2 separate regions of the Homo sapiens genome follow, and region 1 is linked to region 2. Evidence: promoter capture Hi-C in 16 types of primary human blood cells and fetal thymus (Javierre and others, 2016). All regions are on one chromosome and are shown on one strand. The core of a region is centred on a gene start or on the middle of the fragment in contact, and the rest is flanking DNA. Distances in the headings are between cores, read along the strand shown.

What was found. The method cuts DNA at HindIII sites, captures the fragments that hold promoters and counts their contacts. A CHiCAGO score of 5 or more calls a contact.
Region 1: a fragment that was not itself captured here is called in contact with the fragment with the promoter of PLAUR in region 2 in 1 of 17 cell types (erythroblasts); the score reaches 5.5 in erythroblasts.

What each region holds. Positions count from the first base shown.
Region 1 is chr19:44,501,633-44,506,398 of GRCh38, reverse strand. CEACAM20 (CEA cell adhesion molecule 20) reads left to right here. Exons shown (of 12, transcript NM_001102597.3): 12 at 185-240. The coding sequence ends at 238. Among named protein-coding and RNA genes, the nearest start is that of ZNF180, 3.5 kb to the right of the region's middle. The HindIII fragment of the contact is 5,114 bases long and covers 1-4,304 here.
Region 2 is chr19:43,668,687-43,673,341 of GRCh38, reverse strand. PLAUR (plasminogen activator, urokinase receptor) reads left to right here and starts at 3,173. Exons shown (of 7, transcript NM_002659.4): 1 at 3,173-3,276. The coding sequence starts at 3,222. LOC124904724 (a long non-coding RNA gene) reads right to left here and starts at 4,578. Exons shown (of 3, transcript XR_007067264.1): 1 at 4,159-4,578; 2 at 2,862-3,316. RefSeq lists an enhancer at 3,105-3,404 and silencers at 4,325-4,404, 4,445-4,655. The HindIII fragment of the contact is 10,236 bases long and covers 1-4,655 here.

The sequences.
Region 1 (4,766 bases), core at 498-2,997, 830 kb before region 2:
AGTACATGGGCCATTCCAGGAACAGAGATGTGCCAGGGTTACTAAAGTGTGATGAGAATGGAGGAAGATTTTTGGAATTTCCAAAGAAAGGAAAGCTCCAGGCTGTTTGGGCCCCAGACTACAGTGAGTAGACTGGGAGGGTCCACCTAGCAAATGGAGCTCACATTTTCTCTTTGTTTAACAGGAGCTTGTGAATCCAGAGCCCAACACTTACATCCAAATCAACCCCTCCGTCTAATGGAAGCAGAGATCTTTTCTCCAGGAGTCCTAGAGAAACCATGCTTGATCATATATTTAATGACATTTATTAAGTGCATATTATAAGCCAGTCATTCTCTGTCATCTCTGTAGACCTTGTGATGTTCTACTGCAATGGGTTGGTCAGGCCCTGGCTTCCATAGAATCTTAGATTTTGACTCATATTTTTTTTCAAAGCAATAGTAAGGGTAAAAATGACAGCCCGTGGATCTAGAGTTAGAGGACCAAGGTTTGAGACTGAACAGCTTAGGATATCATAGTTGCAGGCTGAGGATGAGCAAACACTGTTGGTGGACTCCAGAGAGAAGAGTGAGTCTGAGTCAGCCAGAGAGGAGTAGGGGACAAAGACAGGTGTCAGAGAAGAAGTGGCTTTTCAAATCATGATAGAAGATAAGGAACAAGGAGCTCTTAAGAAATTAAGAGCTCTTAATAAAAGGAGAAAACACGTAGTGAAGTGAGGGATTGAGGCTCCTGAGGAGAGGTAGGCATGAAATGCTTAGAATCCTGAGAACTGCAGGGGCGGAGAGAGTCAGAATGAGATTTGCTGAAGGTAAAGAGAGTTAGGAGACAAGGATATCTCCATGGTTTCTTGCCAGGGCAACTGGATGATTGGCAGGTCACTTTCTGAGAAACTTTGGGATAAGGAGAGAAATAAAGAATTTGCTTCATGTCAAGAATTTAGACATGTCAAGAATCAGTTGCAGAATCAAGTAGGCAATTGTTCATAAAAATCTAGACAGATCATGGCTGGAGATACACATTTGAGAGTTGTCAGTGGGACTTAAAGTTATGGGGCTGGATGAGCTCCTCTGTCAGGGGGGTCCCCAAGACCACCTCATGCTCAAAGATTTTCTAGAGGAATTCATAGGACCCAATTGTTATACTCATGGTTATAGTTTATTACAGCAAAAGGATGGAGAATAAAATTAGCAAAGGGAAAAGGTGCATGGGGTGAAGTCTGGAGGATACCCTGCACCAGCTTCCAAGTGTTCTCTTTCAGTGGAGTCACATGGTGTATTAGTCTGCTTTCTTTGGCCTATAACAGAATATCTAAATCTGGGTAATTTGTTTTAAAAAGGAAATTTATTTCTTACAGTTATGGAGGCTTAGAAGTCTAAGGTCTAGGGGTTGCATCTGGTGAGAGCACTTCTTGCTGGTGGGGACTCTCTGTGGAGTCCTGAAGTGGTGCAGGGAATCACATGCCAAGGGGACTGAGTGTGGTAACATGTTAGCTCATGTTTCTCTTTCTTTTCTTATGAAGCTACCAGTTCCACTCCCATGATAACCCGTTAATCCATTAGTCCATGAATGGATTAATCCATTCATGAAGGCAAAACCCTCATGAGCCAATCACCTCTTAAAAACCCCCACCTCTCAATATTGCCACACTGGGGATTAAGTTTCAACATGAGTTTTGGAGGAGACAAATATCCAAACCACAGCACATGGGAAATCCCCCAGCAATGATGTGTGACAACGTGTGTGAAGCATTGCCATCGAGGGAAGCTCACCTAAACCTGGGTGTCCATGGTTTTTATAAAGGGTCAGTCACTGAAGCTCCAGACTCCTAGAAGGAAAGCAGATGTTCCTCCATAAATTACACTGTTAGTATAAACCATCTGGACAAAGTGGTACAGCATGGCTCAAGGCCTCAGGCAAACAAAAGCACTCTTACCAGATAGAACATTATGAGAGCTCAGTTCCCAGAGCTGCCCAAAGGCTAGTCAGGAAAACAGGACCTTCTGGGGAACTTACAGAGTTTGAGCAATAGGCCTGTTATGTCAACCCCAAGCAGAGTGGATGAAGACAAGGCAAGGGACAGGCTGACAGCTGATTCCTGGGTTCCTCTGATGTTTACAGGAGAGATCAAGCAAAGGAGACAAAAAAGGACTGTTAACACAGGGGGAAACCAACACTGAAAACTCCTGGAAATGAAGAGTTTTCAGAATGCGTTGTTGCTATCCTTGGAGCTGAATGGCTATCATAATGATGATAACATTAATTCAGATTTTAAAAATTAATCATTAGATGTGATACAAGAGACCGGAATTAGGATCTTAAGGGTTGCACTCAGTAGTACCAGAAACACCACCCTATTTGAACCCTGAGAACTTTCCTCTTCCCTGCCAAGAAATGTCCCCCTCCCCCTGACATCCTAGAGACAGATCATGCCCTTTTACCCTCTCGTTACTCTTACTTTGTTTTCTAGTATTTATAGTAAATGGATTCATAATCTTCTTGCTCTTCACTGTATCTTGAGCCCTTATCCAATTCATGGCCAATAAACAGAATCTTAATATAAACTTTGGTCTCAGCTCTTCCCGACAGTTGACAGATAAATCTCTAGATTAGATAGGCATCTTTCTAGAATGTTCCTGAGTGGTAACTCTTTAAAATTTTTATTTATTCATTTATTTATTTTGAGACAGGGTCTGGCTCTGTCGCTGAGGCTGGAGTGTAGTAGCATAATCTTGGTTCACTGCAACCTCTGCTTCCTGGGCTCAGGCAATCCTTCCTGCCTCAGCCTCCTGAGTAGCTGGGACTACAGCTTGTGCCACCAGGCCCAGCTAATTTTTGTATTTTTTGTAGAGACGGGGTTTCACCATGTTGCCCAGGCTGGTCTCAAACTCCTGGGCTCAAGTGATCCTCCTGCTCCGGCTTCCCAAAGTGTGGGGATTACAGGCGTGAGCCACTGCGCCCAGCAGTGGTAACTCTTCTAAAGTCCCTGTAATATTCAGGTTAAGTCAGGATTTATAGGTTCCTGGAAGTAAACATTACCACCTTGTTCATTGTGAAAGAAAATAAAAAAGACTAAACAAAAGACAGATAAACAAAGTCAGTTTTACATTACATAGTACTAACGCTTTATTTTCTGAAAATTGTTTTTTTTTTTTGAGATGGAGTCTTGCTCTGTTGCCCAGGATGGAGTGTAGCAACGTGATCTTGGCTCATTGCAGCCTCTGCCTCCCAGGTTCAAGCGATTCTTCTGCCTCAGACTCCTGAGTAGCTGGGATTACAGGCGTGCATCACCATGCCTGTCTAATTTTTGTATTTTTTAAGTAGACACAGAGTTTTGCCATGTTGGCCAGACTGGTCTTGAACTCTTGACCTCATGATTGGCCTGCCTTAGCCTCCCAAAGTACTAGGATTACAGGTGTGAGCCACTGCGCCTGGCCTATTTTCTGAATATCTTAAACAATTAGCAGAAAAATAAATGAAGTGAAAAAAGGAAGACGACCTAACACTCAAAGCATCCCATTCTGATTTTGTCATATTTGTATTTGCAGATCAATCTGCAAGATTTTACATCTTTACAACACACAGCTAGCAACACAGCATTTCTATTTGTCCATTTTTCTCTCTCAGTAAGGTTTTGAGGGTTTCTTCAGATGACATATTTATCTTACTAAATTTACTTATAAGGCTTTTTTTTTTTGCTTTTTTGTGAATACATACGAACTTTTTCTGTTTTGTTTGCAAACTTAGTATTGCTTGCACGTAGAGGAAAGATACTGATGTGTAGACAAGCGGCAACATAATGTAAAAGTTAAGAGCATGGACTCTAGAGTTCAACATCTTGGTCTCAAATGCACAACATAGGTGGAAATACAGATGAAACAAGACTGAGTGAAAATATTTAAGTTGGATGACATAGGTCTTGGGGAGTCATTAATTGAGTCCCTACTTTTGTTTTGAAATTTACAAAATAAAAGGTTAAAAAAATAAGCTACTTACTTCAATGTAGAAACCGATGTCACATTTAACCCTCAAACTTCAGAGATATGTCCATTAAAAGAACACAAACAAGAATGCCTCTTTTAGTAATACTTTTTTGGAAATGGTAGCCAATATAATCCAACATGAAAGAGAATGTCTAATTTAAAATACTGGTAAGGAAAAGATGAAATTGTAGATAACTGTCTCAATAGAAAAGCCAAGAGAGTCAACTGGAGTATTGTAAGAATTAATAACATTGCAGTAGGTTAACCAGATACAAAATAAGTATTTTTTAAAAGATCAACCACAATAACCAATAATAAGAAGCTTTGGGGATAGAGATTACATTTCAAATAGTAATAATTCATTGTTTTTAAAGGTCAGAATTTACGTGAAGAAAACTACAGGAGTGCTTTGACAAGCATTTTAAAAACTAAAAAATTATGTATTTTCATACAGCAGGGCTCCAATTTTCAGCTACCTCCCTGGTAGGATGAAAATTAACACAACTACCTCATAGGCTGATTGGGCTTGGTAATGAAATATTAAAGTGTTTAATACAGAGACAGGAACCTTTATTTAGCCAACGAATATTTATTGAGCATCTATTATGTGCCAGGTCTCTCTCTTTTTTTTTTTTTTAGGTGTTGGGGATGCAGCAGTGATCAACATCGATAAAATGCTTTTCCTTATGGAATTGACATCGTAGTGGTAGGTCGGACAGTAGACCAAATAAATAATTAAAATATATAGTGTGCTAGATAGTGAAAAGTTCTTTAGAGAAAAAAATA
Region 2 (4,655 bases), core at 1,924-4,423:
AGCTTCAATGAGTTAGTAAGAATCACATAGTACAGGCTGGAAGCGGTAGCTCATGTCTGTAATTTCAGCAATTTGGGAGGCCAAGGTGGGTGGATCACCTGTAGTCAGGAGTTAGAGACCAGCCTGGCAGACATGGTGAAACCCCATCTCTACTAACAATACAAAAATTAGGGCCGGGTGCGGTGGCTCACCCCTGTAATCCCAGCACTTTGGGAGGCTGAGGCAGGTTGATCATCTGAAGTCAGGAGTTCGAGACCAGCCTAGCCGACATGGCGAAACCCCATCTCTACTAAGAATACAAAAATTAGGGCTGGGCGCAGTGGTTCAAGCCTGTAATCCCAGCATTTTGGGAGGCTGAGGCGGGTGGATCACCTGAAGTCAGGAGTTCAAGACCAGTCTGGCCAGCATGGTGAAACCCCATCTCTACTAAAAATGCAAAAAATTCGCCAGGCATGGTGGAGAATGCCTGTAATCTCAGCTACTCAGGAGGCTGAGGCAGGAGAACCTCTTGAACCTGGGAGGCAGAAGTTGCAGTGAGCCGAGACCGTGCCATTGCACTCCAGCCTGGGTAACAAGAAAGAAACTCCGACTCAAAAAAAAAAAAAAAATAGCCAGGCATGCATGAGAATCCCTTGAACCTGGGAGGTGGAAGTTGCAGTGAGCCGAGACCACGCCATTGCATCCAGCCTGGGAGACAAAGTGAGACTCTGTCTCAAAAACAACAACAACAACGACAACAAATCACATAGTATAATCATTATTACAGCAGTAGAAGTAGCTACCACTTACTCATCCCCTACGACTCTCTTCCTCTCCTAATCTGTTCCAGCCACACTGACATCTCTTCTGTTCCTAGAATCTCATCAGGCTTCCACCTCAAGGCCTTTGCACTGGTTGTTCCTGCTCCTTGGAAAGGTTCCCTGCCCATCTGCCCTACTTCTTCCCTCACTGCATTCAGCCTCTGCTTGAATGCCACTTGCTCAGGGAACCCCTCCTGGATCACCCACCTAAAACAGCTCACACCTCATTTGCACCCAGATACTTCCTTCAGCCTGCTTTGTTTTCTCCAGTTTGCTTATCCCTCTCAGACAGTGAAAGATTAGATAACACATATCTGCTCCCCACTGTCAACACAACAAAAGGTGGGAACTTTGCTTTGCGTCCTGCTGTGCCCCTAGCTCCTGGACCAGTGCCCAGCACAAAGTAGGTCCTTGGTAGATGTTAAAGGAATGTGTTGAGCCCTCCATTTCGGCCAGCAGCTATTCCAGGCATTGCACCTACATTAAATTGCTCTGTTTAGTTAGATGCATCCTAAGACGGGGAGACAATTTTATCTTTAGTATTTTATTTTACTTAAAAAAAAAAAAAACTTGGCCAGGTGCAGTGGCTCATGCCTGTAATCCCAGCACTTTGGAAGGACAAGGCAGGTGGATCACCTGAGGTCAGGAGTTCGAGACCACCCTGACCAACATGGTGAAACCCCATCTCTACTAAAAATACAAAAATTAGCCGGGTGTGCTGGCGTGCCCCTGTAATCCCAGTTACTCAGGAGGCTGAGGCAGGAGAATTGCATGAACCCAGGAGGCGGAGATTGCAGTGGCCGAGATTGCACCACTGCACTCTAGCCTGGGTGACAGAGTGAGACTTCGTCTCAATAAATAAATAAATAAATAATAAAAAGAAAGAAAAAACTTATTATAAGCCTTTTCAAACCCACAGAAAAGGAGACAGAATGGCATAATATGCCCTTATATACTGATTACCTTTATATAATTGATACAACCATTTGGCTATTTTGCCTTTATTTTCTACTCAAGTATTTATTTATTTATTATTTTTTTGAGACAGGGTCTCGCTCTGTTGCCCAGGTTGGAGTGCAGTGGTGCAATCATAGCTCACTGCAGCTTCCAGTTCCCAGGTTCAAGCGGTCCTCCCACCTTAGCCTCCCAACTACCTAGGACTACAAGTACGGGCCACTGCACCCAGCTAATTTTATTTTATTTTTAATTTCTTTTGGAAAGATGAGGGCTCTTTATGTTTCCCAAGCTGATCTTGAACTCCTGGCCCCAAGTGATCCTCCTGCCTTGGCTTCCCAAAGCATTGGTGTTACAGGCATGAGCCACCTCATCTGACCTCTTCTAAAATATTATAAAATAAATACAGACATCAAAATGAAAACAAAAGAAAAAGAAAAAACAAAACAAAAATCCCCAAAACAACAACAACAAAAAATGCAGACATCAATAACATTCACCACTAAATACTCTAGTAAGCATCTGCAAAAACAAACAAACAAACAAAAACCAGAATCCCACCTAAGCATACAGCCATTGTCGTAACAGTGATATCTACTTTTTTGGCTGAAGTGTCTTTTTTTTTTTTTTTTTTTTTTTCTGTGAGAAGGAGTCTTGTTCTGTTGCCAGGCTGGAGTGCAGTGGCACGATCTCGGCTCACTGCAACCCAACCTCCGCCTCCCGGGTTCAAGCGATTCTCCTGCCTCAGCCTCCTAAGTAACACACACACGCCACTACGCCCGGCTAATTTTTGTATTTTTAGTAGAGACGGGGTTTCACCATTAAGTGTTTTAATGTAGGTGCAATGCCTGGAATAGCTGCTGGCCAAAATGGAGGGCTCAACACATTCCTTTAACATTTACCAAGGACCTACTTCGTGCTGGGCACTGGTCCAGGAGCTGGGGGCACAGCGGGAAGCAAAGCAAGGGTTAAGTGTTTTAAGTGTTTAAGAGATGCATATTTCAGGATGCATCTCTAGATAAGGACATTTTCCAAAATACCAGTATCCCTCCTGACAAAACTAACAAAAATCCTGTTAGCCAAATAATCAGCCACATTCATATTTACCGTCAAAGTTTTTATCCTCATTTTACAGCAGTGGAGAGCGATTGCCCCGGGTCCCACGTTAGGAAGAGAGAGAACTGGGATTTGCACCCAGGCAATCTGGGGACAGAGCTGTGATCACAACTCCATGAGTCAGGGCCGAGCCAGCCCCTTCACCACCAGCCGGCCGCGCCCCGGGAAGGGAAGTTTGTGGCGGAGGAGGTTCGTACGGGAGGAGGGGGAGGCGCCCACGCATCTGGGGCTGACTCGCTCTTTCGCAAAACGTCTGGGAGGAGTCCCTGGGGCCACAAAACTGCCTCCTTCCTGAGGCCAGAAGGAGAGAAGACGTGCAGGGACCCCGCGCACAGGAGCTGCCCTCGCGACATGGGTCACCCGCCGCTGCTGCCGCTGCTGCTGCTGCTCCACACCTGCGTCCCAGGTAGGGGCTGGGTCCCGAACGCCTGCGCCTGGAACAGGGTCTAATTGAGGGGGTTGGGGGTTGTCAGAGGATGAGTTGGAGGAATGCGGTTCAGTCCTCAGCATCCTCCCTAATCAAATAATAGTAATTCTCGTGCTTTGTGCAACGCCACGCGGCGCAGTACCTGGCACTCAGTAGCTAAGGAAATATTAGTGGAGCAAAGGCATTTAGCTTTACATAATTTAGTGAGTGCTTTTTTTTTTTTTTTTTTTTTTTTGACAGAGTCTCACTCTGTCGCCCAGGCTGGAGTGCAGTGGCGCGATCTCGGCTCACTGCAACCTCTGCCGCCCGGGTTCAAGCGATTCTCCTGCCTCAGCCTCCTGGGTAGCTGGGATTACAGGCGCCTGCCATCGCGCCCGGCTAATTTCTGTATTTTTAGTGGAGACCGGGTTTCACTCTGTTAGCCAGGATGGTCTCAATCTCCTGACCTCAGATGATCCACCTGCCTCGGCCTCCCAAACTGCTGGGATTACAGGCGTGAGCCACCGCGCCCGGCCCAAGTGTTCTTTTTTTAAATGGAGTTCTTCGAAGCCTCTTCCTTGCAATTTCAAACTAGGCGATGGGACTTTATTAATTTCGTTTCGCAGAGGAAACTAGGGCACAGAGAGGTTAGATAACTGGCCTAAAATCACACAGCCAGTGCTTGAATACGCAGGATCTGACCCTGCAGCGCCCCCCAGCGCTCTCCACGCTGCTGGGTCTCCCCCTCTGAGAAACGGGGGGACAGGACCCCCTTTTACAAAAGGCCCAAAGGGAGGCTGACTGAGCGGCGCAGAGCCAGTGCTGGAGACCCGGGACTGTCCCTCAGGACCTTTCCCTCTCACTGAGGCGACTCTCACTTACTTCCCCGGAAAATGTGGGGGGCTCTGGGTCGAGGAATTCGAGAAGGAACTGAGTCAGGGCGGGTGGCCACAGGGTGTTGGGGCCGCGATGAATAACCCGGAAAGCGCTCGAGACCGCGGGAGGCCGGGAATGAGTAACAGCTCCGGGATACTCCGAACGCGCAGCTGGAAAGGGATGTCCGGGAAGGCCCGGAGGTCGGGGACCGGGCCTAGGGACTGGGCTGCAATCTCGGGGCGGAGCCTGGGGCGGGGAGAGAGTGTCGGGGAGGAGCCAGAGGGCGGGGCTGGAACCTCAAGGAAGAGCTACGGGAGAGGTTACAGACCGAGGAAGAGCTAGGAGCGGGGCTAGAACCTCGAGGCGGAGCCAGAGGGCGGGGTTATAACCTCGAGGCGTAACCAGAGGGCGGAGTTATAACCTCGGGAGGAGCTAGAAGGTGGGACTAGACTCTTGAGGGGCAGGATTATAACCTCGGGGAGGAGCTAGAGGGCGGGGCTGGA